Regions from separate parts of the Homo sapiens genome. Here all the other regions are linked to region 1. The links are contacts of gene promoters, found by promoter capture Hi-C in blood cells and fetal thymus (Javierre and others, 2016). All regions are on one chromosome and are shown on one strand. The core of a region is centred on a gene start or on the middle of the fragment in contact, and the rest is flanking DNA. Distances in the headings are between cores, read along the strand shown. Region 1 holds the start of TAS2R60 (taste 2 receptor member 60). Region 2 overlaps LOC124901764 (a long non-coding RNA gene). Region 3 holds the start of TAS2R40 (taste 2 receptor member 40). Region 4 overlaps LOC105375546 (a long non-coding RNA gene). Region 5 holds the start of GSTK1 (glutathione S-transferase kappa 1). Region 6 holds the start of TMEM139 (transmembrane protein 139).

Region 1 (4,584 bases), core at 1,510-4,009:
TCTCTCCAGCCTACCTTTTTGGCTTGATATGCCATCTTCTCTATGTAAGTCCTCTGTTGTAGCTAAATGTATCTAATTGTTCTGGATATAATCATGTATCCCCCTCCTTTACTGATGCCTCATCTTTTTCCTTCCAACATGCAAGACAGCATCTTTATTGTCTCACAATTATGGGGCTGTTACTTCTCAACTCTTCTGAGAGATCTTGGGATGGGAATAGCAAGATCCCTAACACATAGAGCCACAGACTGGGAGTCACTTGTTGAGAGTACTGAGTTGAAGGTTTTCCATATAGAGAGCTAACTCAGGATCCCTATCCTACTACCCTCATGATTACATTTATAAAGACTGGTTATGAAAAGTTAAAAACTCTCAGACTTGACTTTTACCTAAGAAGATAAATCTAGACATGAGAAAGCCAAATGCAACAAACAAACAAACAAACAACAAACAACAAAAGAATCACCACGAAACACATTGCATATTTAAATTCAAATGATTATTCCCTCTTTTGGATTAACTTACTCTGCACATAGTATATGTCCAGTAAATGTTTGTGGTTTATGTTTAGCCCATAAAAGTGCTTTGAAGGCAGATATCTAATTCACTGTTGTAGCCCAATGTCTTTCAAAGGGTTATCATGGCATATAGGATATGCTTAATAAATTATTATTAAATGAATTGAAGGTTAAATGCACATCTTTATCATTGAAGGTGTGGGAGGTGGATGAAAAAGATTCAAGTTTTCCATATTGGGCGGTTTGTAGGTGGCCATACTCCAGAGCTATAAGCCCGAAGTTTGCCCCATTTCTCCAAGTTCCAGTAGAAAACAGCCAAATGTCAGCCAGAAGAACAAGGGCAAGGAAGAGAGCAGTTGGGAACTCTATCTCCTGGAAATTTGCATCTTCACAGAAAGGCAGAGTGAATTACCTTAGTTCATCTTATTTCCTTTACTCCGAAGACCTATGTCCACTATGGTTGGCGTATGTGTTAAAGAAACAATTCCACCTGGAAGTGGACTACTGGGAAGTAGACTGGGAACTGGGAAGAGATGCTGACATGCGTTCTATTCCCTTTTTGTGGGGGTCCTATATATGGAACTGGTAGGTTGTGGTGTCAGCAGATGTGTATTCATTACAAATCCCCTTACTGTCATGTTACTTGATCCTGAGCCTTCAATATTGCTGTATTTGACCCAGAACAATTCCTGCTTTCCTATCTCCCTGTGACACGTTAACCTACTTACACTCACCTGGGTGTTGATTGCTGATTTTTTTGACTCTTTGAAGCTGATTTCTATAAAGAATGTGGTCTTTTTTTTACTCTGTCCTTCTCTGGTTGATATCAGTGGTCTGACATTTGGTGCCCTGAACTTCTGTTGCATCCCTGATGCTCTCCTGAATTCTCCTTATGCTACTTATTATGCCACAGGATGGATGGAATAGAAGATAGCCATTCTAATAAAGTAATTGTCATCATCATCATTGCTCCTTGTCCATATGCAGAGGTTTATAATTTCCAATATATTTACCATATTTATGGTCATATTTATTTGTGACCCATATTTTTTATAGGTGAAGAAAGGGGGGTGTTCAGAGAGGTTAACTGCTTGAGGATCCGTAGTGATTGTGACAAGACTCAAAACTTGGGCTTCTGAGTTCAGCTAGGGATGAAGAAGATGGAGGTGTAACATGTATTGCTAACCATGGCAGAGATTCCTGGTCCTGGAATCAGTTTGGATCTTGGTCTTTCCTCTGTGTAACTGTGACTTTAGGTGGGAGTTGTAATATATAATTTGGGGTCTTATTTCTTTTATCTGTAAGATTATCTTTCATGTCTTCTTTCATTCTAAGCCGAGATTCTAAGACATCTTTGTGAATTAGAACATAGGATACTTTTCATATTTTACAGATGGACAAAATGAGGCGCAGAGGGGCTGACATATCCAGCAACTCACAGTAAGGGGTAAAGTTTGGACTAAAGGCTGTCTCGACTCCTAGCACAGGGCTCATTCTGCCATATCCCATTGGCTTATCGCTACTGGGGGTTCCTCTGTGAAGTGCTATTTTAGAGGCCACCAGTTATCAAATATATATTTTTAAATTTTGAAAAAAGTTGCCTGCCTCATTATGTATAATTGTCTCCAGTGTTCTTTTTTTATGATGATGGTCACTGTGAGTAATAAGACTTGAATTAATCCTTCTCTGTAAAGGTTTGCTCAGTTTTCTCTCTGTCTCAGTTAAAGGGGTCTTGCCATACTACTCCCCGCATAGAGTTGTTGTGAGAACTAAGGAGAGCACTCAGAACAATGCCTGCAACATAACAATCACCCCCCCCCCGTGGATGTGAGCGCTGTCTCAGTAGCGGGTGTGCCCCACGGATGATACTACTGAGCTGGCAGGTGCATGGTCCTGTCATAGGTGTCCGCTTAGAGAAGTATAACCTCCTGTGTAAGGACACTAAATGCCAGGGCCTGATATATTATCCACTTTGATGTTGACATGGGCAGAGAATAGGCAGAAGAGCAGGCAAATTTTTGGGCAGGTATGGGGACTTTGAAAATTGAGCCTTGACAATATTTGCATCTACTCTGAGAAGAAAAAACCTCTCACCCTCCTCTGATAGCCTGCGTCCTCTACTCTGGCCTAGCTTCTGCGCTTGGGGCAGCTGGAGGGACAAACATATCCTACAGGACCTTCCAGAGCAACCCAACAGAGATAGCCCTTGAAGTTTTGGGACCCATCTTGTCCACCAGAGAGATGAATGGAGACCACATGGTTCTAGGATCTTCGGTGACTGACAAGAAGGCCATCATCTTGGTTACCATTTTACTCCTTTTACGCCTGGTAGCAATAGCAGGCAATGGCTTCATCACTGCTGCTCTGGGCGTGGAGTGGGTGCTACGGAGAATGTTGTTGCCTTGTGATAAGTTATTGGTTAGCCTAGGGGCCTCTCGCTTCTGTCTGCAGTCAGTGGTAATGGGTAAGACCATTTATGTTTTCTTGCATCCGATGGCCTTCCCATACAACCCTGTACTGCAGTTTCTAGCTTTCCAGTGGGACTTCCTGAATGCTGCCACCTTATGGTCCTCTACCTGGCTCAGTGTCTTCTATTGTGTGAAAATTGCTACCTTCACCCACCCTGTCTTCTTCTGGCTAAAGCACAAGTTGTCTGGGTGGCTACCATGGATGCTCTTCAGCTCTGTAGGGCTCTCCAGCTTCACCACCATTCTATTTTTCATAGGCAACCACAGAATGTATCAGAACTATTTAAGGAACCATCTACAACCTTGGAATGTCACTGGCGATAGCATACGGAGCTACTGTGAGAAATTCTATCTCTTCCCTCTAAAAATGATTACTTGGACAATGCCCACTGCTGTCTTTTTCATTTGCATGATTTTGCTCATCACATCTCTGGGAAGACACAGGAAGAAGGCTCTCCTTACAACCTCAGGATTCCGAGAGCCCAGTGTGCAGGCACACATAAAGGCTCTGCTGGCTCTCCTCTCTTTTGCCATGCTCTTCATCTCATATTTCCTGTCACTGGTGTTCAGTGCTGCAGGTATTTTTCCACCTCTGGACTTTAAATTCTGGGTGTGGGAGTCAGTGATTTATCTGTGTGCAGCAGTTCACCCCATCATTCTGCTCTTCAGCAACTGCAGGCTGAGAGCTGTGCTGAAGAGTCGTCGTTCCTCAAGGTGTGGGACACCTTGAGCCACAGCTGATGAAAAACTTCAAGGAGATTCTTGTGGAGAAGGCATGGACTCAAAGGGACATAGCTTCTCTCTTTGCCACATTGAATGTTTTCTCTCTGTTGCTACAGTTAATGATTAGAAAAATAACTTCAATGAAATAGGATACAAGGTGAGAGTAAAGGTCCTGAAATATGGGCTAGTGTCATGTTATGTACTCACCAAGTGCATAGTTCATGTGGCCATGGTTCCTGTGGGACCTGATGTGGTCAAAGAATCCAGAAGCCTTTATTTTTCCTGTGATCGATCTCTTCGTATTTAAAATAATCATTCTGGGAACTGGATGCAAAGATCCTCAAACTTCATGCAATATTTTATCTGTTCAATCGAACTGGGGCATGTTTTTGGAACTGCAGTTTTCTCAGGCTTTGTCCTGTGAACCACCTTTCCCTTCTCATCAATTCAAAGTTTTCTGGCCATCTAATGTGGTGCCTCTCTCCTTCTTTCCATGGAAGAGTTTCTGGTGTCTAAACCTTCTACACAGAGCATAGTGTAATTGGTGCATGTGTGTGGCAGTGTGTGTTGCCAGGGATGTGTGTATTCTCCGATGACCTTTGGAGATCCCTCTGAGTGCCAGGGGTCTATGATTTGTATGTGGTTCATGTTCTCTATAATAGCCCAGCCTGTTAGTCTCCTCTGTATTTGTTAAGGTCTGTGGGTTCAGATGTAACTTCTTTTGATTGATATTGGGACCTATTGTAATTCCCCTACTGACATGGGGAAGTTTATCTGTATCTGTCTAAGACCTAAGATTTAAGAAGAAAAAGCCTTTGTGTTTGGTGAACCATGTTCAGACTGCCTTTCTGCTTTTCCCAGCTCCTCTCAAACGT
Region 2 (4,584 bases), core at 994-3,493, 240 kb before region 1:
ATAAAACACATTTTCTTTCTCTATTCACCCATTGGTGAACACATAGGTTGATCCCATATCTTGACTCTTGTAAACAGTGCTGCAATAAACATTGAGAGTTCAGATACCTCTCAGTGATTTCCTTTGGACATATACTCAGTAGTGGGGTTGCTGGATCATATGGCTAGTTCTATTTTTAACTGTTGAGGAATTTCCATACTGTTTTCCATAATGACTTACTAATTTACATTTTCACCTTCTCATTTCTTAATTGTTTATTTTTAATAGCATCCTTCTCTTATTTTATGGAGGCAATATCTTCTGTGCCTCCTCTAAGGACACAAGCTTAAATTTTTTGTCTTCTTTGATCTTTATTTCTTCAGGGGTAATTCACTCTTGGTGTTTAGCTTGGTCTTTCTCTTTCAGGCTGTGGATTTTGTTCCTATTTCTGATCATCCTTGATTAGTAATTCATGAAGGAAAAGGAAAGGCTGTTTTGGGTAAGCAGGTATCATTCTCCAGTAGAACGGTCTCCTGAATGGAAAGGCTGATTGGAAGCTCTCTTTTGTAACTGGGCCACCTTGACAGGCTGGCTCCTCTTTTAGGTATGTGGGTGTGGAATCTGACATTAGCCTGGAAATTCAAAATGCCATAATAAAAAAAGGGTTTAATCTATGTGCAAATATCTGCACTTGAAGCCCTAGTTCTTCCTTGGAAATGTATTCAATTTTTCTAGAAAAGAATTCTCAATATGAAGGTTTTCGATGGTTCTGTATGCAGTGGCAAGGAAGGCACTGGAAAGCATCAATGATGCAGCTATATGGCAGACAGAATTTTAATGATGCCTCTGGTTTTTGCACAATGTCTCGCTCCTGCTATCCAAAGCTAGGAATCCGATAGCCAAGGCCCTCCAGGCTTCTAGCAGCCTGATCAGCCACCACATTCCCAGAGGCCCATGACATGCATATTCTGAGCATCCTTTACTCCACTTCATCTACAATATGCTTTTTCTGATTGTCCACAACCAAGAAATAGGATGAAATCTCCAGTCTGCTCTTGGCCATCCTCATTCCCTTCTCTTTAGTGTTATGATATTTTTTTCTCTATGGAGTCTCAGAAGAAAGGGAAGTAGTGAACACATTATTTAAAAAATCAAATCAAAACCTTATACATACTTTTTTTTTATCATACAAGAACCTCTGGGTCTATTTCAGAAGCTTAATATTTGGTGCCCAAAATATTTTATCCTGGACAATCTTATATTGCACAAATCTTAATTCAGAGTCATAAAAGTCCCCCAAACTGGCTTTTTAAGCTGGTGCATAAACCCCATTGATGATAGTCTTATCCTATTTTTGTTTATGCTCATGTGCTTTCTCACCTGTTAAGAAACTTGCTAATTCTATTATGCGACTCTCTGGCAAAGCTTATCAAAGCTTCAAATTAATTAAGCAGTGGCAGCTCCCAATTTCCTTTTCTTACTGGCAAAAATTTGTTTCACAGAAAATGTTTAGAAAGCTTAAGTTGGTAACAGCTGATTGTTGACCTGGAAATAAGAGGTCTTCATCAATATGTTAAGCGGTCAGGATACTTAAAGAAAAACATCTATGGAGACTTCTTAGCATGCACTCTAGGCAAATACTTGCTGTCCTTCACCATTATTTCAGGATTTTTTTTTCCTAAAAGCATAAGAACAAACACATAAATGATAAAAGCAGAATTTAGGCCAACTCTAGCTTGCCTGCCAAGTAGGTAAGATGCGGTGGCAGAATACTGGCTACACTTGTGCCTGTATCACCATGGAGACCCTACTCTGACCATCAAATAATGGGATTCTAATGAGGAATGCTGCTGAACAACAAGCATGGCTGAGCACAAAGACAGAGCTGCTGGCATTGGAACATGGGAGTGAGCAAGAAAGGGGCAGCCCAAGGGAGAAGAAAAGGTGACACTGAACGTAGGTGTCGTGATGAGAAGAAAATAGGTTGCAGGTGGTGACTGCCTGGAGACCAGCCCAAATCACCTTCCACCTTTACGTGGAATCCAGGCTCAAAGCAGGAGGGACAAACTTGAGTGGGATAAATGTGACATGAAATGAGTCAGTTTGCCCAGAATATGTTTTTACCTATGAGGTGGATTGCATGGGATGGGGGAGGGGGGCTTGTAGGCAGGAGGGGCTGGGTCATGGAAATTAAATGAATTACTTTCCTAATGTGCATTGTTGTTTTTTTTTTTTTTTACACAATTGGTTCACAAAATAAAAAATTAATCCTTACTTTATGTATGAGCTCATCTGGGATTTTGAAATAGCCTCCTGATGCACATCTGTACTTAGACCAATTCTAAATCCTGGACTAGAATTTTGAGTAAAATCATCTCCAGGCAAGAGCCAGGACCAGTGAGAGCTGAGAGGCTCAAGAAGTGATGAGAATAGATTAGATGAACCCTCACTGCTGATATCAGAATTAGAAATGAATTATAACAAGGCTGAGTTTCAAAGAGAAATGCCCAGGATGGGGTCAGGATGCACCTTTCTCTCTCTCCATACAAGCTCTCCCTGAGGGGTCTCCTCTATTCTAAGTGCTCAGGTCCCCTCACAAGCCAATGGCTTCCAAACTTGTGTTTATCTCATCTCTTGCTCTTGATCTCCAGGCCTCTCTACCCACCAACAATCCCTTCTCCTATATATATATTTTTGGGCCCAAATTTTTGCTAAGTGAATTGTTCTGGCTCTAACTATCCTCTCCTTTGCAAATGAGAGGTCTTTCATTCTAAGAATTATCATGGGCCGGCATTTGTAGCTGACATTGAAAATAAACCTCCCCCCTCCCCAGAACTGCCTATAAGATGTGATTTTCTGAAAACCTGCAGGCCTTGGGAATGCAAATCAGAGAAAGATCCAATTGTCACCAACACTTACCAGGGAACACTGCCATTTGCATCTGCACTCCAGATCCCCGGTGGCTGCAAATATATCAGTGGCTCATTCAAACCAGAGCCCAGGCACAGATTGAAAGCTTGAGTGGAGGTGGATTTGGAAAGAGGAATGAAAAGGACACAGCTCTGGAAACTGGGGGGAATGAGCCCGTGTCACTGCCAAGATGGAAGGGTAGGCAGTGCATTCCCACATGTCTGACCCTAAGATTTCAAATTTCATTAGTAGCATCTCCTTTAGCTCAACCTAACTACAAGGAGAACGAGAAATACAAGGAAGTCCCTGCCATGTTTGGGGAGCATTTTTATCTCTGCCCCAGCATCTCCCATTTTCTGCTGAACTAAAAACCTTTCTCTTTCTCAAGATATGTGGAAAAGGAAAAGGAGAAATAAGGAATATCTCTTACTTTAGTCCTTCATTTTTCTAGCTTCCCAACTCTCCAACTCAGACTCTCGCTCTGACCCCCAAGTCAAATATGGCAGGTAGCACTGCCTTCTTTAGGGGTCTTCCAGATTATGCTACCACCACCACCACCACCACCACTCCACTTTTCAGAAACATGTGGGTTTCCACTTGTCAAAAATAAAACAACCCTCTTGATCATTATAGACTTGGGGTCTTGGCTAGAGAACAAATGAAAACAGAATTAAGAACAAAGAGGCGGGGCATGGTGGCTCAAGCCTGTAATCCCAGCACTTTTGGAGGCTGAAGCAGGTGGATCACGAGGTCAGGAGTTCGAGACCAGCCTGGCCAACATGGTGAAACCCCATCTCTACTGAAAATACAAAAATTAGCCAGGCGTGGTAATACTACTACTAATAATAATACTAATAATAACAAAGAAAAGCAAATAGTTAAGTATTTAAACATTTTGAATTCCATAAATATTGATCAAGGCCCAGTATATACCTAGACTCTTTACATTTAATATTCACTATACCCATCCAAGTTCCGGGCACCTTATAATGCACACATTTGCAAGCCACAGCCCAGCACAAAGGGCACTCCCTAAATGAGAGCAACCACAATCCCTCCTGAGAATCGCACGATGTAGAGATCCACCCTCTCTCCCTTTGAAAAAATACGACCATGGAACATAAGGCTGATCGCATCAAATATAGGAACAGAGGAGGGAGGACTCGCTGCTGGAGGGAGATAAAGCAAGTAGTCCCAATGCAGACAGTAAATGAAGGTGGCACAGGGTTCTCTGGCGTTTGTTGTATTGATGCGCCCAGCGAAAGGAAATTTGGCAGCTCTTTAGAGGTAATCTGCCTTACAAGGGACCGTGAGCTGACTGGCAAGCAACAGAGTTGCTATGCCATCATCATGGTCACATTTGTTACCCTCACTTGCGGAGGAAGAACAGTCACATTCCTCCCCACCGCAAACGTCCAAAGAGATCTGGCACCAAAGAAGACTTCCTGCTTTCCTGCCACAGCCCAAAGCCTCAGAGTCCCCCACAGATTTCACTTCCTCCATAACCTCAGATGCCATTGCTTGTAGTAAATCCATGTGATAGTGCACAGAAGCACACACACATACAGGGAGGTCTTCATTTCTTTCCTCCCTCTTTCCTTCCCTCATTCCTTCTCTTCCTTACCTCCTTCCTTTCTTTCCACTTTTCTCTCTTCCAACTTCCTTCCCTCAACCAATTTATTTATTGGTAGCCTA
Region 3 (4,584 bases), core at 760-3,259, 220 kb before region 1:
ATCTCAGTAAGCTGAAATTGATGACACATACACAAACAATAAAAACTGGGACTATGGAGACTTCCTTCTCTCCAACTCGAATAGCATCCAATTTTGGCTTTTCTATATACTATTCGAGGACATTATAATAGCAGGCCTTTTTGGAAGAAACTCAATTCTAAGTAAAAGATGTTCATATATGAGCTTATGGGAATTTCTTATTCACAAACATGGTAACTATCAAAATAAAACTCTCTCCCAAAATAAGAGAGACAAGAAAAGAAGTGGGGAAAACAGATTTTAAAAGCTGTATGAGCTTTTACAAATAATTTAGCAGGTAACAGAGATCTTGTGAGACAAGTAAAAAGGCCTTGTATTCATTGCTTATCAGGTAAATGTGGACTTAAAGTAAATAAGGTAAGAAGGTGTTGAGCTAGAAACATGTCTCAAATTATTTCCAGTGAGCTTCTGAAAGCCCAAGACAAATGTATCTTTATGAAAAATTGAGACAGACCCAGTAACCAGATCCTCTCATTATTTGCATGTGAAGCCTCTAACTTGTAGTCATGTGATAAACAAATGGAGAAAAATTGGAAATAACCATTAATGAGGGCGGCAGAAATTATAACATTGAGCAAGGGTCAGAAGATTGCAGAGCAGTTACCCATTCTTGGCGCAGAAACCTGAAAGTCAGGATCAAAGAGAATGGCAACGGTGAACACAGATGCCACAGATAAAGACATATCCAAGTTCAAGGTCACCTTCACTTTGGTGGTCTCCGGAATAGAGTGCATCACTGGCATCCTTGGGAGTGGCTTCATCACGGCCATCTATGGGGCTGAGTGGGCCAGGGGCAAAACACTCCCCACTGGTGACCGCATTATGTTGATGCTGAGCTTTTCCAGGCTCTTGCTACAGATTTGGATGATGCTGGAGAACATTTTCAGTCTGCTATTCCGAATTGTTTATAACCAAAACTCAGTGTATATCCTCTTCAAAGTCATCACTGTCTTTCTGAACCATTCCAATCTCTGGTTTGCTGCCTGGCTCAAAGTCTTCTATTGTCTTAGAATTGCAAACTTCAATCATCCTTTGTTCTTCCTGATGAAGAGGAAAATCATAGTGCTGATGCCTTGGCTTCTCAGGCTGTCAGTGTTGGTTTCCTTAAGCTTCAGCTTTCCTCTCTCGAGAGATGTCTTCAATGTGTATGTGAATAGCTCCATTCCTATCCCCTCCTCCAACTCCACGGAGAAGAAGTACTTCTCTGAGACCAATATGGTCAACCTGGTATTTTTCTATAACATGGGGATCTTCGTTCCTCTGATCATGTTCATCCTGGCAGCCACCCTGCTGATCCTCTCTCTCAAGAGACACACCCTACACATGGGAAGCAATGCCACAGGGTCCAGGGACCCCAGCATGAAGGCTCACATAGGGGCCATCAAAGCCACCAGCTACTTTCTCATCCTCTACATTTTCAATGCAATTGCTCTATTTCTTTCCACGTCCAACATCTTTGACACTTACAGTTCCTGGAATATTTTGTGCAAGATCATCATGGCTGCCTACCCTGCCGGCCACTCAGTACAACTGATCTTGGGCAACCCTGGGCTGAGAAGAGCCTGGAAGCGGTTTCAGCACCAAGTTCCTCTTTACCTAAAAGGGCAGACTCTGTGACTGGAACTCACGGAGTTCTGCGGGACCTGGTCCAACCACTTCTGCCTTTGCCTCAGGTAGAACTCTCTCCTCACCCGTCTCTTCTCTCCCAAACCTGCTCTGACACTTCTCAGATAACGTGATCCTTTTATAAATATGAAGCTGAATTTTTAACTTGAGATTCTAAACAGAAGTAACTAAGAAACCTGAAGATGGACTTTGAAAGCTCCTTGAACTATGTTCATTCATATCCTGCCCTGAGATCTCTCCACTTTCTTCTCCTCCTGAGCCTTAAGGAGAGGGTGGCCAGACATATCGGTTTGCCAGGGACAATCTCTGTTTATTGTCTGTTGTCAATTGAGCATCCTTTAATTCTCAAGAATATCATGGTCTGGATGAAGAATTACATGATCATCCTACTTAAGACACCCAACTAACACACAGTTAGGGCTGGTGAAGCAGAGCACAGCACTCAGTCCACGGGGTAGAAGGGAAACCAGAGTGGCTACAGAAAAAGAAGATTCAGGAAAGAAAGGCTGCTGGAAATTATCAAGTGCTGCAGAGTTCCGAGGAAAGTAAAGGGTGAAGAAAAAGGCTCTGGATTTGACTAAAAGGATGCCATGTGTGCCATTAGTGGAGTGATAGGGTGACATCCTGATCCCAGGAGTTCCAGAAGATAATGCCAAAAGGGAGGGGATGGGTAAAAACCAATAGTCTAGAGAGGATGTTTGCAGATAAAGATGAGTTATAGAACGGCAGATGGATATGTGAAGGGTCAGTTCAATGCTTTATTTCTCCAAATGGGAGGGGACAAAGTGAGCAGAGAGGAAAGAAAGAATGCAGGGAAAAGAGTGAAGTGGGCAGGAAGCAGAAAGAGAAAAGGAAGAGGCCAGAGTAAGTAAGCGTCTGTTTTGCTCAGCTCCTGACTCTGTGGCAATGCTAGCGGCACCTGTGCCTCTGGTTTTACCAGTTCTGGGTTACCTTGAAGTAAATAGTGGGGCAAGAGCGGGTTACTTGGGGCAGGCTGCTGGAGAAGAGGAAAAACATTATTCTCCATTGTCATTGTTCAGGATGGTTCCAGCAGCATTGTCTCAAAGAGCTGTTCACAAAACATTGGACACCCTCTCCCCAGATATCTTAGAGCTTGAACGTTAGGAATCTGAAGTTGTCTTTTATTAGGTAAGTTTTAAATCATGATTATTGAGGAAAATGAAAAAAGAATGCTGTGGATCATACCAAGCTTAGGTAGCCCCCAAATGAAAATATGAGGTCAGTAGCAAAGTCTAGTTCTGAGCTCCAGCGCTCTCAAGCACACATTTCAGAGAGAGTTCCTTACATCCATAAACTGCAAAAACCACACACACACACGGCATACACACAGACACATGGCATACACACACACACACACACACACACACACACAGATTCCTTTATAGCTCAGACAGCTTGGGACTTATTTACCTGAAAAGTAAAATATTAATAAAACACACATTTTTGATAGTTTTCTTAAGCTATAGTTATTTATATGACTATTTCAGGCGGTATTTGTTATAGTAAGACAAATTAGATATTGAAGTTTTATTCCAGTCCCTAGAATAGAGAAATATACATTTTCTTCCAAGTTATATATATTGATAAAAGGGTCATGTACCCACTAAGGGTTCTCTGATGCATTACAGAGTTAGAGAGAAAATTGATTTAAAGTTGCCATTATATTAACATGAACCATGTCAAGACCACAAAGTGGATAACTCCATACTTACTATGAAGAAATATCATCTCATTGCTAGCAAGAGCCTAAGGCAGCACATAGCTAACAAAAGCTCCAAGGATGATAACATCCTTATCGATGCACATGTTGGCCTGCCTTCAACGAGATAAAATTCTCTCCAATTCTCTTTCTTCTGTATGTAAAACCCAAGTAAGCACTCAGAAAGACCCAGAATACCTAGTCTTCAAGTTGTCTGGCTTTAGACAGCAATCAGAAGTCCTAAATGAAGACAATAATCGACTCTGCTGGACAAAAGTCTGTAACCAAATGCAAAGCCCGGCTTGCTGTGGTCTCAATATTATTACAGGTTTTCACCTTGCAAACTCTACATCATCTCCCTCGCCCCACAGCCCTGCGGGATGTTGAAAGTGATAGAGTGAAGGATTCCTTTACCCACAAAGTCACTCTGAATATTCATCTAGCATGTGGAGCAGGTAAGGGGACTTTGGTTAGCAATGGATTCCAGTCTGGCAGGCCCAGCCCAGAGGCAGGGTATCTGGCTTCTTTCCTCATACCTGGTCGAGTCCTTGCAAATAAAGGCTAGACTGGCAGCCATGGCCAGTCTAAGGGCTATGACTTTATGGGCACCAGATTGTCCCACAATCCAGTATCATCTTCCCCTTCCAACTACTTCGGTGTCTGCTAAAATTCCACTGTGGTTCTGGCTTTTCTTTGCTTTTATTCTACAGGAAATCTGTTATTCTCTCAGGCATTCTTTACTTGGGGCAGCAGGGAAGAAACATCTATGTAATAAAAAGAAAAGAAACTATAAGTCCAACCAGTCTAAAATGTCTTGTGCTGGGGGAGGGGAGCAGAAACCAAGGGCTAACTAATTATGTCTTGTTGGAGACAGGGCAACTTGTGCATTAGGAAAGATCATGGAAGGAAAGAAAAAAAAGACACCGAGAGAGGAAGCCTTCCCATCTGTCTTACGTTTTCTCCCTCTCCTCTGGAGACAAGGAATATATATATAGTTTTCTTTTTTTTTTTTTTTTGAGACGGAGTCTCGCTCTGTCGCCCAGGCTGGAGTGCAGTGGTGCCATCTTGGCTCACTGCAACCTCCGACTCCCTGGTTTAAGCGATTCTCCTGCCTCAGCCTCCTGAGTAGCTGGGATTACAGGCATGTGCCACCACACCCAGCTAATTTTTTTATTTTTAGTAGAGATGGGGTTTCACCA
Region 4 (4,584 bases), core at 656-3,155, 200 kb before region 1:
AGCCTGGCCAACATGGTGAAACCCTGTCTCTACTAAAAATACAAAAATTAGCTGGACATGGTGGCAGATGCCTGTAATCCCAGCTACTCAGGAGAGTAGAAGGCAGGAGAATTGCTTAAACCCGGGAGACAGAGGTTGCAGTGAGCTGCGATCACGCCATTGTACTCCAGCCTGGACGACAGAGTGAGACTCCATCCAAAAGCAAAAAAAAAAAAAAAAAACGAAGGAGGGACTTCGTGTACAATAGTGAGCTATAAATTAAAGTTGATGATTAACTCAAGTCTCTCCGAATCCGAGGTTAAAAACACACACATGCGTTTTCCTCCCTGCAGAAACAGAGCATGGTGGAGGATACTGATGACTTCAACGTAATATGGTAAGGTCCATGATAAGAGAAAACACAGATGGCATGAGAATATAAAAGTGGAACACTTAGCCTGGAAGCTCACAAAGGAATTAGGGAGAATAGGAGTCTTGGCAGGCAGTATGGTTTAGGGCTTAAGATTTGGAAGCTGGGTTAAGATCGCAGTTCTGCCTTTTACTAGTTTACATGATTTTTGGCAAGTTACATTCCCAGAATAATAGCACCTAGATAGAAAATATCCAGGCCCTAAGAATGTATTACCAGAACTCAAAGACCCCAGAGGAATCTTGCTGTCGCCTTAAGTATGCTTGAGTCTTTGCTCTAGGTAGTTCCTATCTCTTCAAGAACAATCCTTCCTGCATATCATCAATCATGTGTATGTTAACCTAAAAGCCCCACAGTGCCTCTCCTTACTAGTTTGCTCCGAACATGTTAGACAGTGGGCTGCCTCATTCTTTTGTAATCCTTGGCAAAGTGAAGATGCAGAGAGTGTTGTGATCACATCAAATCTTGAGAGCAGTAGTAGGTGATTGCTGTGGTGACCTTTAACATCAGAAAGAAGCAATTGCCAGCCAGAGGTGAAGGGTCCTCTGAGCAATTGGCTCGGGAGCTCCTGACAGGCAGCCCATGCATTGTCACTGACACGTGCTTTGTAGCCTACCAGCTGCTGTATTAAAAAGAAATCCACCAGCCACACAGACTAAGTCAGTAGCTAGAATGTTATTTTGAAGGTAGTTATTGGTCCAGGAAAGAGGACTTTGTCACTGGAGAGTTTAAAAATCTCATTTTCAAAACACTCCCTAGGTTTGTTCATGTTTCTCACAGAAAGGACGTGAAAATGAAAATACTTGAGTGGCCTGAGATTTGCCTAGGGAATCATCTTAGAAGCAAAGAAGGAAAAGAACATCACGGAAATTCCCGCAGGCATAATTCCATGGACAGAACTAGACAACGTATTCTCTAGCAGTTTTGAAACCAAGATCAGGTAAGGGAAAGAAGGCAAGCTTTATTTATTTATTATCTTTTTTTGAAACTGATGACAGTTTAAACAAAGGAAGTAGCCATCAAAGTTTAGTGTTAAGGTCACAGAGGTTCGTGGTGAATGGCATAAGTTCAATTCCTACTGCCACCATTCACAGGCTTTATGACACTGTAGAAGTTTCACCTTCAATAAAAGGGAAATGATGATGATAGTATCTACCTAAATAGCCACTTTGAAGAACAGTTTGTCCATTTCTTAAAAAGTTAAACATAGACTTACCATTAGACCTAGTAATTCCACTCCTAGGTATCTATCCAAAAGAACACACATGTCTATGCCAAGACTTGAATGCAAATATTTACAGCAGCACTATTCATAATGGACAACAACCTGAAACAATCCAAATGACCATCAACAATGTGTTACATCCATACAATGGAATACTATTCAGCAATAAAATGTTTAAAACTATAAATACATGCTACAGCATAGATGAACTTCAAGAACATTATGCTAAGTAGAAAAAAGTCAGATGCAAAAAAAAAAACTACGTATTGCATGATTCCATTTATATGAAATTTCCAGAAAGGACAAATCTATAAAGACAAAAAGAAGATCCGTGGTTTCTTAGGGGGTGGGAGTGGGATTGAGTGCAGGTTCTCAACCAGGATTGACTACAAAGTAGCAAGCACCAAAGAAAAAAAGAAAAGACTTTGAGATGATGAAAACATTCTAAGGCTGAATTGTAGTGATGGTTGCACAACTGTATAAATATACTAAAAACTATTGAATGGTACACTTACAATGGGTGATCTTTATGGCAAATATATCAAGTTGCTAAAAAATGGTACTTACCTTGTAGGGTTGTTAAAAGGATTAAATTAGTTAATATTTATAAAGTACTTAGAAGAGTGACTGATGTAGTAAGCTACATGTGTGTTTGCCAAACAATAAAAATAAATGTGGCTGTGTGATTCATCGCAAGAGTAAATTACTAACAGTTCCTGTATGTTTTTCTACACCAACAGGAAGCAATTCTGAGTACTTAGGCAATGAAATTACTTCTTTTCTATAAAATACGTTTTTAAGATCACACTAAGCTTGAGGTTATTCCAGGAGAGATTGTAAATCTTGTCACATGACTTTGCCTTGCCTCTACCTGCCGTAGCTCCAGCCTCATCTCTCACCATTGCCCTCCTTCAAATCCTTCAGCTAAAGAGAATTTCTCTCAGTTCCTCAAGACTCCAGACAATGGGCTTTTCCATAATGTTGCTGGCTCTGTATGGAATATCTATCTGCTCTTCCTCTCTGCTATTGGCTGAATGTGTGTGTCCCCACAAAACTCATAGGTTAGAATCCTAACCCCCAAGGTGATGGTATTAGGAAGTGGGGGCTTTGGAAAATGATTAGGTCATGAGGGTGGAGCCCTCATAAATCGGGTGGGTGGCCTTATGAAAGGGACCCAGAGAGTTCCCTGTCCTTTCTACCACATGAGGACACAGGGAGGAGATGGCCATTTGTGAGCCAGAAAGTGAGCCCTCATCAGACACCATATCTGCCAGCTCCTTGATCTTGGACTTCCCAGCCTCCAGACCTACCAGAAATAAATGTCTGCTGTTTATAAGCTATGCAGTCTATTGTATTCTATAATTGCAACCCTGACTACAGTGCTATCCACGGTCTACTTACTTCCTACCTACAGTTCAAGTCTTCATTTAGGGTTACTTCCTCTGAGAAGCATTCCCTGATTCTTTCTCAACATCCTTAACACTCCTTCCCTCAACACACACACACACACGCACACACAAAACACACTTTGTATTGAATTTGCCAATTGATGTTTTGCCTTTTGACTCCCACATCAGATGGAGTGCTTATAACCCCAAGCACTCAGAACAGTGCATGAGGCAGAGGAGACACTCAATAGACACCAGTGCAGGTTTGCAACCAGGGTGATTTTGATGCCACCAGGAAACACTTGGCAATTTTGTCACCTTAAAAGTTCCCTCATGCCAATGTTCAGTCAATCCCCACTCTCACTGCCAGCCTTAGGAGAAACCACTGATTTGCTTCCTGTCTATTCTGAAAATGTTATGCAAATGAAATTGTATAACACATAGTACTTTGCATCCATCTTCTTTCATTTAGCATAATATTTGGTGGTCACACCTGGGCACCTAGTGGCATCCAGTGGGTAGAGGCCAGAAATGTTACAAAAACATTTTTACAATAAACACAACAGCCCCCACAACCAATAATTATCCATTCCAATGTGTCAATATGCTGAGGTTAAGAAATCCTGCACTAGTGAAATGAATAAACGTGTGAATTAATGAACAAATGAATCCTCTTTTCTGACATGAATTTAAGGATTGTTCTCACTATCCTTTCAAATTCTTTTAAAAAAAGAAGAGTCTCTGAAAATATTTCCATATCCCTTCCCTTCCCACATTTCAACTTTGTTTCTCTAACAACTGTGTTTTCAAAGAACGGCTCAGAATGGGAGAAATACCAGGATTATTGCACTGGGGACACCGATGTTCTGCACAGGCTCCCTTAGACATAAACCCAAGCAGGTGAGGTGCTGCCAGCAGCCTTCAGCTGTCAGCCCTGAGCTGAAGAGTCACCTCAGCCAAGGTCAGGGCCCCTTCCCAGGGCAGCGCATAACCTGAGACTAGCTCATAAGGGGATGTAAAGTCCCAGCCAACTCACCGGAACTCAGTACAATCTCAGAATTCCTTGTAGAACTGACAGGGTCCTTTGCTGAGACAGCATCACAGCACCACAGCCAACCTTTCCCTCTGCCTGACTCTCTCATTTTCTTCCCTTCTCTTCCCATCCCATCACTTCCTCTCCACAGGTGTTGATCATAAAATCAATCCCTGATAAAGCTCCTCCACTGTAATCTTCAGGAGGCTGCCTCCCAAATGTGACAATGTGAAACAATGACTCTGGCTTCTCAAGTTTATATTGGAGCACAAAAACTTTTAATGTACAAAAATATATATTTATAAGATAATCTATCATGACAGACACCAGATCAGTGGGGATGGAGGGCAGGGAGAAATGGAGGAAGGGATTGCAAAGGGTCGTAAGAAAATTTGGAAGGAGGGTGACATAAATGTTCATTATCTTGATTGTGATGGCAAGTTAACAGGGATATACACATGTCAAAACTTACCAAGGCATATACTTTAAATATGTGCAGTTTATTATGTGTCAGTTAAACTTCAATAAA
Region 5 (4,584 bases), core at 1,167-3,666, 180 kb before region 1:
CACCTGTAGTCCCTGCTACTCAGGAGGCCAAGGTGGGAGAATTGCTTGAGCTTGGGGGGCAGAGGTTGCAGTGAGCCAAAATTGAACCACTGCACTTCAGTCTGAGCGAGAGTGAGATCATGTCTCAAAAAAAACAAGGTGGGCTGTGGTGGCTCACATTTGTAATCCCAGCACTTTGGAAGGCCAAAATGGGTGGATCACCTGAGGTCAGGAGTTCAAGACCAGGCTGGCCAACATAGTGAAAGCCCATCTCTACCAAAAACACACAAAAAATTAGCTGGGCGTGGTGGTGGGCACCTGTAATCCCAGCTACTTGGGAGGCTGAGGCAGAGAGAATTGCTTGAACCCAGGAGGCAGAGGTTGCAGTGAGCTGCAATTGTGCTACTGCACTCCAGCCTGGGCAACAGAACAAGACTCCATCTCAAAAAAAAAAAAAGTTTAGTTTCAGTGGTTGTTGAACAATTAGTTTACTCTGCAAGTAGGTAATGATAACATCATTTTTCATTCCATTTTGCATGCTCTTCTCCATGTAGGGGTTTACCTCGTATCTCTGTATTCTGATAGCCTGGAGTTGTTTTCCTTATTGATACAAATGAAAAGTGGAATCTTTATATGTTTTCCAATTTATTAAATTAGTAATGTTAAAAATAATTTTAACAAAGTTAAATGGAATTATTTTAAAATTCTGTTTCTTTGCAGTAAATGTAATCCCAATATAAGACAATATGACTCACATATTTGTGAAAACGAATAGGGCCAATCGTTTCCATTATCACCAAAATTATCTATAGTGAGGCCTCTCCATCTTCTACCAGTCCCTCTTTTTTTTCACTCACTCAAAATATATGTATCGATGGTCAAATGTGTCCCAGACATTGTGCAAATCTCTGACAAAGGTAACACAAGAAAATGTGTACTCTGAGAACTTCTTATTCTGCCCCAGTTTAGGAGATTCATGCAACTGCCAAGCAACAATAATAAGAGCTAGCAGTTATTGGAGTACCTCATTCCTCACAACTCGTCATAAGGCAGGTGTTATCATTAGATATTCCCCATGTGTATGCAGGATGAGGAAATAGGTTCAGAGAGGTCAAGTGGCTCACCCAAGGGGCACAGCTAAGTGAAAGGCACTGCAGGCATCTCAAACTACCCCCTTCCCACAAGACTCCACTGCAGAGCAGGACAGTCACCCTGACACCAGCCCAATGGGTTCATCTTGCCCATTACCCAGATGGGGCTAATTTATCAAGACAAGGGAATTGCAATAGAGAAAGAGTTTAATACACATAGAGCCAGCTAAACAGGAGACCAGAGTTTTATTATTACTCAAATTAGCCTCCCAAAATTCGGAGGCAGAGGCTAGGGGACTTTGTGGGTTTTTTTGTTTTTGTTTTTGTTTTTCTTTTGAGAGGGAGTCTTGCTATGTCACCCAGGCTGGAGTGCAGTGGCATGATCTCGGCTCACTGCAACCTCTGCCTCCCGGATTCAAGCAATTCTCCTGACTCAGCCCCCCGAGTAACTGGGATTACAGGCACATGCCACCATGCCCGGCTAATTTTTGCATTTTTAGTAGAGACAGGGTTTCACCATGTGGGCCAGAGTGGTCTTGAACTCCTGACCTCAAGTGATCCACCCACCTCAGCCTCCCAAAGTGCTGGGATTACAGGCGTGAGCCACCATGCCCGCCGGCTAGAGTTTTTTAATGATAGTTTGATGGGCAAGGGGCTAGAGAATGGGTGCTGCTAATTGGTTGGGGATGCAATCACAGGGGTGTGGAAAACCGTCCTCAGTGCACCGAGTTGCATTTGGATGCGGGCCACAGAGGAGTCACTGGTCCAGGTGGAGTCATCCTGTCATTAGAAATGGAAAAGTCTGAGAAGGTATCTTCAAAGGCCAGTCTTAGGTTCTACAAAAGTGGTTATTTACAGGAATAATTGGGGAAGTTGCAGAGCTTGTGACCTCTGGAACAATGTCTGGTAATTGTTAATGCCTACATCTTAGCAGAATTCAGGCCCCTCTCATAATCCTAAACTTGTGGACTTTTATTAGTTTTATAAAACTGGTTTAGTTTGGGGAAGGGCTATTATCATTTAAACTATAAACTAAATTTCTCCCTATATTAGCTCGTCCCATGCTCAGGAATGACCAAGGGCAGTTTGGAGGTTAAAGGCACGATGGAGTTGGTGAGTTCAGATCTGTTTCACCTTCGTAATTTTCTCACTGTTAAAATTTTTGCAAAGGCGATTGCAGCGCCCCTTGTCCACACCTGCGCGCTCCCCAAGGGGTCCCTACCCACCCCGCCCCTGGCTGGGGGCCGTAGGCTGGCCCTGCCCCGCTGCGCCGGAGGTGGACCTCTACCAGGGCAGTTTCTCTCTGAGGCTGCGCGCTAAGGCGGTGGGCGGTCCCAGGCAGGCCCAGAAGCTGGGCAGCCTCTGCCGGGTTCCGGGAAAAGGAGCTCCTGCTGCCACTGCTCTTCCGGAGCCTGCAGCATGGGGCCCCTGCCGCGCACCGTGGAGCTCTTCTATGACGTGCTGTCCCCCTACTCCTGGCTGGGCTTCGAGGTGACGCTGGGAGGGGTCGCCTCGGCAGTGTCTGGGGAGTGAGGGCGGAGGGAAGAGTGAGCGCAGGGCTCCGGGACAGAGGTCTCGTGTAACTCCTGGCGCCGCCCAAGGGGTTAAGGCAAGCAGGGAGAGCTCCGGGGCTGAAGGTCACTTTGTGCTTTTAAACGGAATAGAGTCGCTGGCTCCAACCCGAGCCTTTATATCCCGACTGCAGTTTCCCACGGTGGTGGAAAGAGGGGCGGCTCCAAACATTCAGGGAGAAATGCAGAACACGGCCACCTCTTAGCCCAACGATGGCAGTTTTGGGGAAAACTGGCCACAGGAGCGAAGATCCTGGAATAGATTTCTAGTAGTGAGGAGAGTTTTGCCAATTTCAAACCAAACAATGTAGGGTGTCCGCATAACCCCTGCTCTGCACTTAGCGCCTCCCTTCCCTTTCCCTCGGCTCTTTCACTTTTCCATCTTGCACACTGGCAATCGTTCTTGACCTCTGCCCGCAGATCCTGTGCCGGTATCAGAATATCTGGAACATCAACCTGCAGTTGCGGCCCAGCCTCATAACAGGGATCATGAAAGACAGTGGTAGGAAGGGAGGGTCGGGGCAGGGGTGATCTCAGTGGCCCAAGAGAGCCGACCCCAGCGGGTCCTTATATTGGCACTGGCAGCCAGAAAGCTGCCCTCTGCCCCGTCTCTACTAAAAATACAAAATTAGCCGGGCGTGGTAGTGCATGCCTGTATACCACAGCTACTCGGGAGGCTGAGGCGGGAGAATCGCTTGAACCCAGGAGGCGGAGGTTGCGGTGAGCTGAGATCGCACCATTGCACTCCAGCCTGGGCAACAAGAGCGAAACAACAAGAGAAAAAAAAGGAAGCTGCCCTCTGCCCAAAACCCACGTCGAGGTCCCCAAACCTGGGACCCTTAGGTCTTTTCTCACTTAGCGTGCCCAACCTTCTCCTGGCAGGAAACAAGCCTCCAGGTCTGCTTCCCCGCAAAGGACTATACATGGCAAATGACTTAAAGCTCCTGAGACACCATCTCCAGATTCCCATCCACTTCCCCAAGGATTTCTTGTCTGTGATGCTTGAAAAAGGTGAAGAGAGTGGGATGTAGACAGGGTATCCAGTGAAAAACACAGAAGTCGGAGATTGAGGGATTGATAGGATGGAGGGGCTGCGGGAGACTAAAGCAAGTGAAGCCTGCCTTGGGAAACCTCAGGATCAGCCTTGAGCGAGCTGAAGGTTGCCGGGCATGAAAGGGAAGAAGAGCAGGCAAATAGGTCATGGGAACCTTGGGTGAGAGGCTGAGGGCGGAGGAGCTCTGGGGGATGTCAGAAGCAAGGAAGAGCTAGTCCTCCACCAGGAAAGCAGCAAGAGGAGCCCTGCCTCTGGGTGCCTCTGCCCCACAGGAAGTTTGTCTGCCATGCGTTTCCTCACCGCCGTGAACTTGGAGCATCCAGAGATGCTGGAGAAAGCGTCCCGGGAGCTGTGGATGCGCGTCTGGTCAAGGGTGAGTGTGGGGCTCTGGGAATCCTCTGGGAGGACCTTGGATGACTTTCTGACCTTCCCCAGGCACGTTTTCAGGGTCATGATCCTGCCCCCGCCCGGGGGATCTACTGTCCTCCCAGTCACACCCCTCTCCCCGCACCGCCTTCCTGCTGTCTTCTCTTCTTCCCAGAATGAAGACATCACCGAGCCGCAGAGCATCCTGGCGGTGAGTGTCCTGGCTCCACCCCAACTGCACTCATAGAGAATCTGAGAACAGTTGGCGTTTGGGGGTAAAGAAGACAATAGGTCTCTTATTGCATGGAAAAGGTTATAATTACTGGGGAAGAAAGGATGTCTGTGATTCAGGGCACAAACTACTGAAAAGTTGGAACTAAGGATCCTCAAAAGGATATCTCAAGGTTGAAAGGGGAAGTGCAAAAGGGACAATATATGGGAAGAATTTATTTGCTGAAAGATGTCAGTGAGAGAAAGATGCTCAGTGTTGGAACCCCTGGATGGGGAGGGATATAGTATTCAC
Region 6 (4,584 bases), core at 2,085-4,584, 160 kb before region 1:
ATGGTAACCAAGATCTTTACCCTAAAGCATTTCAGCTAAGGTTCACCATGGCAATGTAAATTGATAGCTTATCTTCACAGGTGGGGGAACACAGGACAGAAATGAAAGTCATCCCTCTGCCCACTGAGACAAATGCATATCTGATTGTTTCCTCTGCCCTATTATCTACATTATCTTATGTAAAAATGCAGATTCACTGAGCCAGACAAAGGCATTAAATATTGAAGCCACCAAAATCATCTTTAAAAAAAGGCATAGACTTGTCTCCCGGGTGCCCTTCCTTAACTTTGGCAAATCTCCTAAAATAATTGAGACTTGCCTCAGTCATTTTCCTTGATTGACAAAGGTATAATTCATCCTTTTAAAGTGTACAATGCAGTGGGGTTTTTTAAAGAATTATTCAGAGTTGTGCAAGCATCACCATTATATAATTTTAGAAATTTTCACCACCCCAATATGAAACTCATTTGCAGTTACTCTCCATTTCTTCCTCTGCCTCCCCACCCCTAGCAAATTCTAATCTACTTTCTGTCTCTTGTATTATTATTATTATTATTATTATTATTATTATATTAATTTTTGAGACAGGGTCTGGAATGCAGACAGGCTGGAATGCAATGGCATGATCACGGCTCACTGAAGCCTCGACCTCCATGACTCAAGCAATCCACCCACCTCAGCCTCCTGTGTACCTGGAACTATAGGCGTGTGCCGCCACCTCCAGCTAATTTTTGTATTTTTTTGTGGCATGATCACAGCTCACTGCAGCCTCAACCTCCAGGGCTCAAGCGGTCCTCCCACTTCAGCCTCCTGAGTAGCTGGAACTATAGGCGTGCGCCACCATACCCAGCTAATTTTTGTATTTTTTTTTTTTTGGAGAGACATGGTTTCGTCATGTTGCCCAGGCTGGTCTCAAACTCCTGTGCTCAAGCAATCCGCCCACCTCAGCCTCCCAAAGTGTTGGGATTACAGGCATGAGCCACTGCGCCCAGCCTGCATTATTATTATTATTATTTTTTAATTATTTTATTTTTTGAGACAGAGTTTCACTCTTGTTGCCCAGGCTGGAGTGCAATGGCGCAACCTCGGTTCACCACAACCTTCGCCTCCCGGGTCCCAGTTCAAGCAATTCTCCTGCCTCAGCCGCCCGAGTAGCTGGGATTACAGGCACACACCTCCATGCCCAGCTCCTTTTTGTATTTTTAGTAGAGATGGGGTTTCATCATGTTGGCCAGGCTGGTCTCGAACTCCTGACCTCGCGATAGTCCGCCTCGGCCTCCCAAAGTACTGGGATTACAGGCGTGAGCCACCGCGCCCGGCAACCTGCATTATTTTAATGGCCAAAAATATTGAGTGAAATAGGCTCAGTGTTATTGAGCAACGTATCATGAGGGTATATTAATCAAATTATGGCATATCGATTCAATGAAATATTACATGGCTGTTTGAAATTACTACAATAAGGTCTTTATCAGGGTGAAATATATACAATATAAAGTATAAAACTTTTTAAAGATACAAAGTGGTTAGTATATTCTGGTTTGCATGTGGACAGTCTGGAAGAAATATATAAACGTTTTAAATGGCCGTGTTAGGATAATGAGAAGATAGACAATTTTTTTTTCTTTAGCTTTTAAATATTGTCATGTTTTTTCTTTTAACAAATGCAATTTTTAAAAATTGATTTTACATTACTGGAATTGAGAATGTATGAACGGGCACAGCCAGCCACCAGTCTAGCCTCTCCAGTTGGGATCCAGTTCTTGTCTATCGTACTCTCCTTCCGGCAACCAAGAGACTTAAGCTACAAAGGTCCGCCTCTCCCAGACTCTCCCCTTACACCTCAGGCCCATACCTTTTGGCCCCGTGCCTCTTAGCCTACACCTTCCCATTCCCACAACTCACTCCTTAACAAACCCCCTTTCCTATCACACACACCAATGACCCTTGGCCAATTTCCTTCTATTCATATGTTAACTGTAGACTGCAGTCCTGATTCCAGCTGTACTTTCCCCTTATGAGCAGAACAGTGAGGAAATTGGCTGAAACAGAACAACAATCAGCCCCCCTCACTCCTGTGCCTACTTTGCATAGAGACACACCTCATTTAGACTCCCACAGCCTTCCTGTTAATGTCTCCTTCCTCTCTCTGCTATCGATCTGGGGCTCTGGGACAGAGAATCTTCAATATCCCACCAGTGCCCACACTTATTACCACTACAGACACAGTTATTCTCATTCCCATACTCTCTCTCTCTCTCTCTCACACACACACACACACACACACCCTCTCCTATGCTTCCCCACCCCAGCTGTCCCTGGGGAGCCTGGATTGGATTTGTGCCCACGGTCTGCAGCTTCCCTCGGTCTGTCTGCTGGTCACCCTCTGAAGGAACGGGGCCCAGTTTTGTTCACCCTCTGGCTCAAGGACCAAGTATGCTTCTACTCACTCTCTACCTCCAAGCACCTACCCTACTCCGACTTAACTGCCTGACCCACAACTAAAAAGAACAGCTCTTTGATCTTCACAGGTGTGGTGAGGCCTGGTGAGAGGGGAGCCTTCTAGTTAGTGACCTACCACGTTTCAGGAACCATGTTAGTTTCCAGGATTCAGAGATGATTAAAACTAATCACGCACCTTGAGAAACTCACAGTGGAAGGAAAATCAGTAAGCAGAAAAATGCTACATAACCAGGTAAATGCTGGGACAAATTTAGGAAGGAACGATGTGGATACACTGGAGCAGGCTCCAAAGCAGCATCACCTCGGAGGAGGATCTTGAAGACTCAAGAGTTAACTGGGTCAAGAAATATACACACTAACACTTCTGACAGGTCTGCAGAATACAGGGAGTCCATAAAAATAGCACTTGGGTAATGGAAGCAGGACACACCATTCCATGCCCACAGCATTACTTTCTGTGTGCAGTGCACTGTGTGATGATCTACAGAGATTAAATAAGCCGAGGTCTCCGCTTCCAGTCACTTGGGAGAGACGCACAAGGTAAATTACCCAAATAGAAGGCAAACTGCCCAGGGCTGTAATTAACATACAATATGCGCCGAGAGGGAAAGGTTAATGCTAACTCCGGTCCTAAGTACAAAGATCATTGGGAGTCAGGGGTGCACTCTCATTAGGGTACAGCATGGGTGGGTGGAGAGAGTAAAAACCAGAACAAATCAAGGTTCAGCAGTTGGAAGTCAGCCTTAGGGAGAAAAGGGGCGGAGACTGACTGGGCCAGAACAGGGATTGGGACAGAAAAAGAGGGTGGGGCCAGTGGGCTCCACCTACCCGCTCCGGCCCTTCCCACCACCCCCCACCCCATCTACTTTCTACAGTCTGTGGAGACAGGTGAGCGACGAACTTCTGAGACAGGTGTGGGTGCGAGGGTCGGGAGGGTCATGGGATTGGGACCGAGGTGTGAGGAGGGAATCTGCAATTCCTTGCTACACAGAGCGCTGGCAACTTCTGACAGGCTGTTTCTGGGGTATGGGCTGCCTCGGGTTGTTGCTGTTACAAGGAAAGAAAAGAGTTCCCCTGCCCACCGCCTCCCAGCCACTGGGCTACCTCCTGGCAGGAAATTTGCAAACTGAGTTTAACAAGTTAGGATCAGCAGAGGGTAGAGGAGGGCCCTGGCAGATGTGGGGTCTAGAAGAGGACAGGAGTTATCAGGGCCTCCGGCCATTGTGCTGGGCCTTTGCCTGTACAATTGTTTCTCAAGCAGTTGTGTCCCTGTGGCTTTGGTGCGCCTGTGTGCACTTTCTCCCTCCACCTGGAGCATGGGCTAACACCGGAGGAAAGGAAAAGACAGAGTCAGACAGGGTAAGTGGGGCTCCCTCCCCTCTTCTCTCTAACGGGGCTGGATTGAGGGCCTCTGGCTGGGGAGGTGGGGGTGGAGATCCAGTAGGAGCAATAACAGAGGAAGGGCAGGGCCTGCCCCATCACCTGAATTCCAGAGATGCCAGTGTGCACTGAAGCCCCAGGCAGGGCGTGCCCAGGACCGGATCCTGGATGGTGGTAAGGGACAAAGCTGGAAGGGAGACTACAGGGAAGGAGAAAGGAAAGAAGGCAGAGCCATGACACAGTCAACTTACAGAATGGCTGGGAGTCAAAGCTCCTGGGCTGGTTTCCTGGCTATTCCACACACTCCAAGACATAGAGAGAATTTCGGAACTGGAGGGGACTCTACAGATGATTTATTTGAGATTGAAGAACCTAGAAACCAAACAAAGAAATATCATATGGTTACTTTGGTATCTGACACAGCCATGACACCAATTGCTAGTGTAGACACAATAGCTGTGTGTCTTTTTGCAGGAGCCTGGGGAGGGGCCATGGTGCCAATGCACTTACTGGGGAGACTGGAGAAGCCGCTTCTCCTCCTGTGCTGCGCCTCCTTCCTACTGGGGCTGGCTTTGCTGGGCATAAAGACGGACATCACCCCCGTTGCTTATTTCTTTCTCACATTGGGTGGCTTCTTCTTGTTTGCCTATCTCCTGGTCCGGTTTCTGGAATGGGGGCTTCGGTCCCAGCTCCAATCAATGCAGACTGAGAGCCCAGGGCCCTCAGGCAATGCACGGTGAG

The links. Contacts are between HindIII fragments. The CHiCAGO score rates a contact against its expected background, and 5 or more counts as called.
Region 2: a contact is called between a fragment that was not itself captured here and the fragment with the promoter of TAS2R60 in region 1, in 1 of 17 cell types (neutrophils). The highest score is 6.7, in neutrophils.
Region 3: a contact is called between a fragment that was not itself captured here and the fragment with the promoter of TAS2R60 in region 1, in 6 of 17 cell types (M0 macrophages, M1 macrophages, non-activated CD4 T cells and 3 more). The highest score is 7.6, in M0 macrophages.
Region 4: a fragment that was not itself captured here is called in contact with the fragment with the promoter of TAS2R60 in region 1 in 4 of 17 cell types (M1 macrophages, M0 macrophages, endothelial precursors and 1 more); the score reaches 10.0 in M1 macrophages.
Region 5: the fragment with the promoter of GSTK1 here is called in contact with the fragment with the promoter of TAS2R60 in region 1 in 14 of 17 cell types (neutrophils, monocytes, M0 macrophages and 11 more); the score reaches 25.7 in neutrophils.
Region 6: a contact is called between the fragment with the promoter of TMEM139 here and the fragment with the promoter of TAS2R60 in region 1, in 4 of 17 cell types (monocytes, neutrophils, M2 macrophages and 1 more). The highest score is 6.1, in monocytes.

What each region holds. Positions count from the first base shown.
Region 1 is chr7:143,440,694-143,445,277 of GRCh38, forward strand. It overlaps TAS2R60 (taste 2 receptor member 60), which reads left to right and starts at 2,760. Exons shown (of 1, transcript NM_177437.1): 1 at 2,760-3,716. The coding sequence starts at 2,760. The coding sequence ends at 3,716. The region is part of intron 2 of EPHA1-AS1 (EPHA1 antisense RNA 1); the gene reads left to right. The HindIII fragment of the contact is 8,585 bases long and covers 1-4,584 here.
Region 2 is chr7:143,201,817-143,206,400 of GRCh38, forward strand. LOC124901764 (a long non-coding RNA gene) reads right to left here. Exons shown (of 2, transcript XR_007060567.1): 1 at 1,360-4,584; 2 at 240-611. Among named protein-coding and RNA genes, the nearest start is that of TAS2R40, 18 kb to the right of the region's middle. The HindIII fragment of the contact is 1,499 bases long and covers 1,495-2,993 here.
Region 3 is chr7:143,221,395-143,225,978 of GRCh38, forward strand. TAS2R40 (taste 2 receptor member 40) reads left to right here and starts at 643. Exons shown (of 1, transcript NM_176882.2): 1 at 643-1,685. The coding sequence starts at 685. The coding sequence ends at 1,656. The HindIII fragment of the contact is 1,727 bases long and covers 1,147-2,873 here.
Region 4 is chr7:143,242,928-143,247,511 of GRCh38, forward strand. LOC105375546 (a long non-coding RNA gene) reads left to right here. Exons shown (of 3, transcript XR_007060569.1): 2 at 1,190-1,349. Among named protein-coding and RNA genes, the nearest start is that of GSTK1, 18 kb to the right of the region's middle. RefSeq lists a silencer at 3,974-4,150. The HindIII fragment of the contact is 1,078 bases long and covers 1,367-2,444 here.
Region 5 is chr7:143,261,025-143,265,608 of GRCh38, forward strand. It overlaps GSTK1 (glutathione S-transferase kappa 1), which reads left to right and starts at 2,417. Exons shown (of 8, transcript NM_015917.3): 1 at 2,417-2,561; 2 at 3,062-3,143; 3 at 3,524-3,652; 4 at 3,968-4,068; 5 at 4,237-4,272. The coding sequence starts at 2,490. The region is part of intron 2 of TMEM139-AS1 (TMEM139 antisense RNA 1); the gene reads right to left. LOC105375546 (a long non-coding RNA gene) reads left to right here. Exons shown (of 3, transcript XR_007060569.1): 3 at 2,124-2,183. RefSeq lists a silencer at 2,235-2,304 and enhancers at 2,332-2,626, 2,445-2,664. The HindIII fragment of the contact is 19,965 bases long and covers 1-4,584 here.
Region 6 is chr7:143,281,624-143,286,207 of GRCh38, forward strand. TMEM139 (transmembrane protein 139) reads left to right here and starts at 3,335. Exons shown (of 3, transcript NM_001282876.2): 1 at 3,335-3,822; 2 at 4,318-4,579. The coding sequence starts at 4,335. It overlaps TMEM139-AS1 (TMEM139 antisense RNA 1), which reads right to left. Exons shown (of 3, transcript NR_133932.1): 1 at 4,354-4,584; 2 at 4,095-4,215. RefSeq lists an enhancer at 3,361-4,560. The HindIII fragment of the contact is 11,639 bases long and covers 1-4,584 here.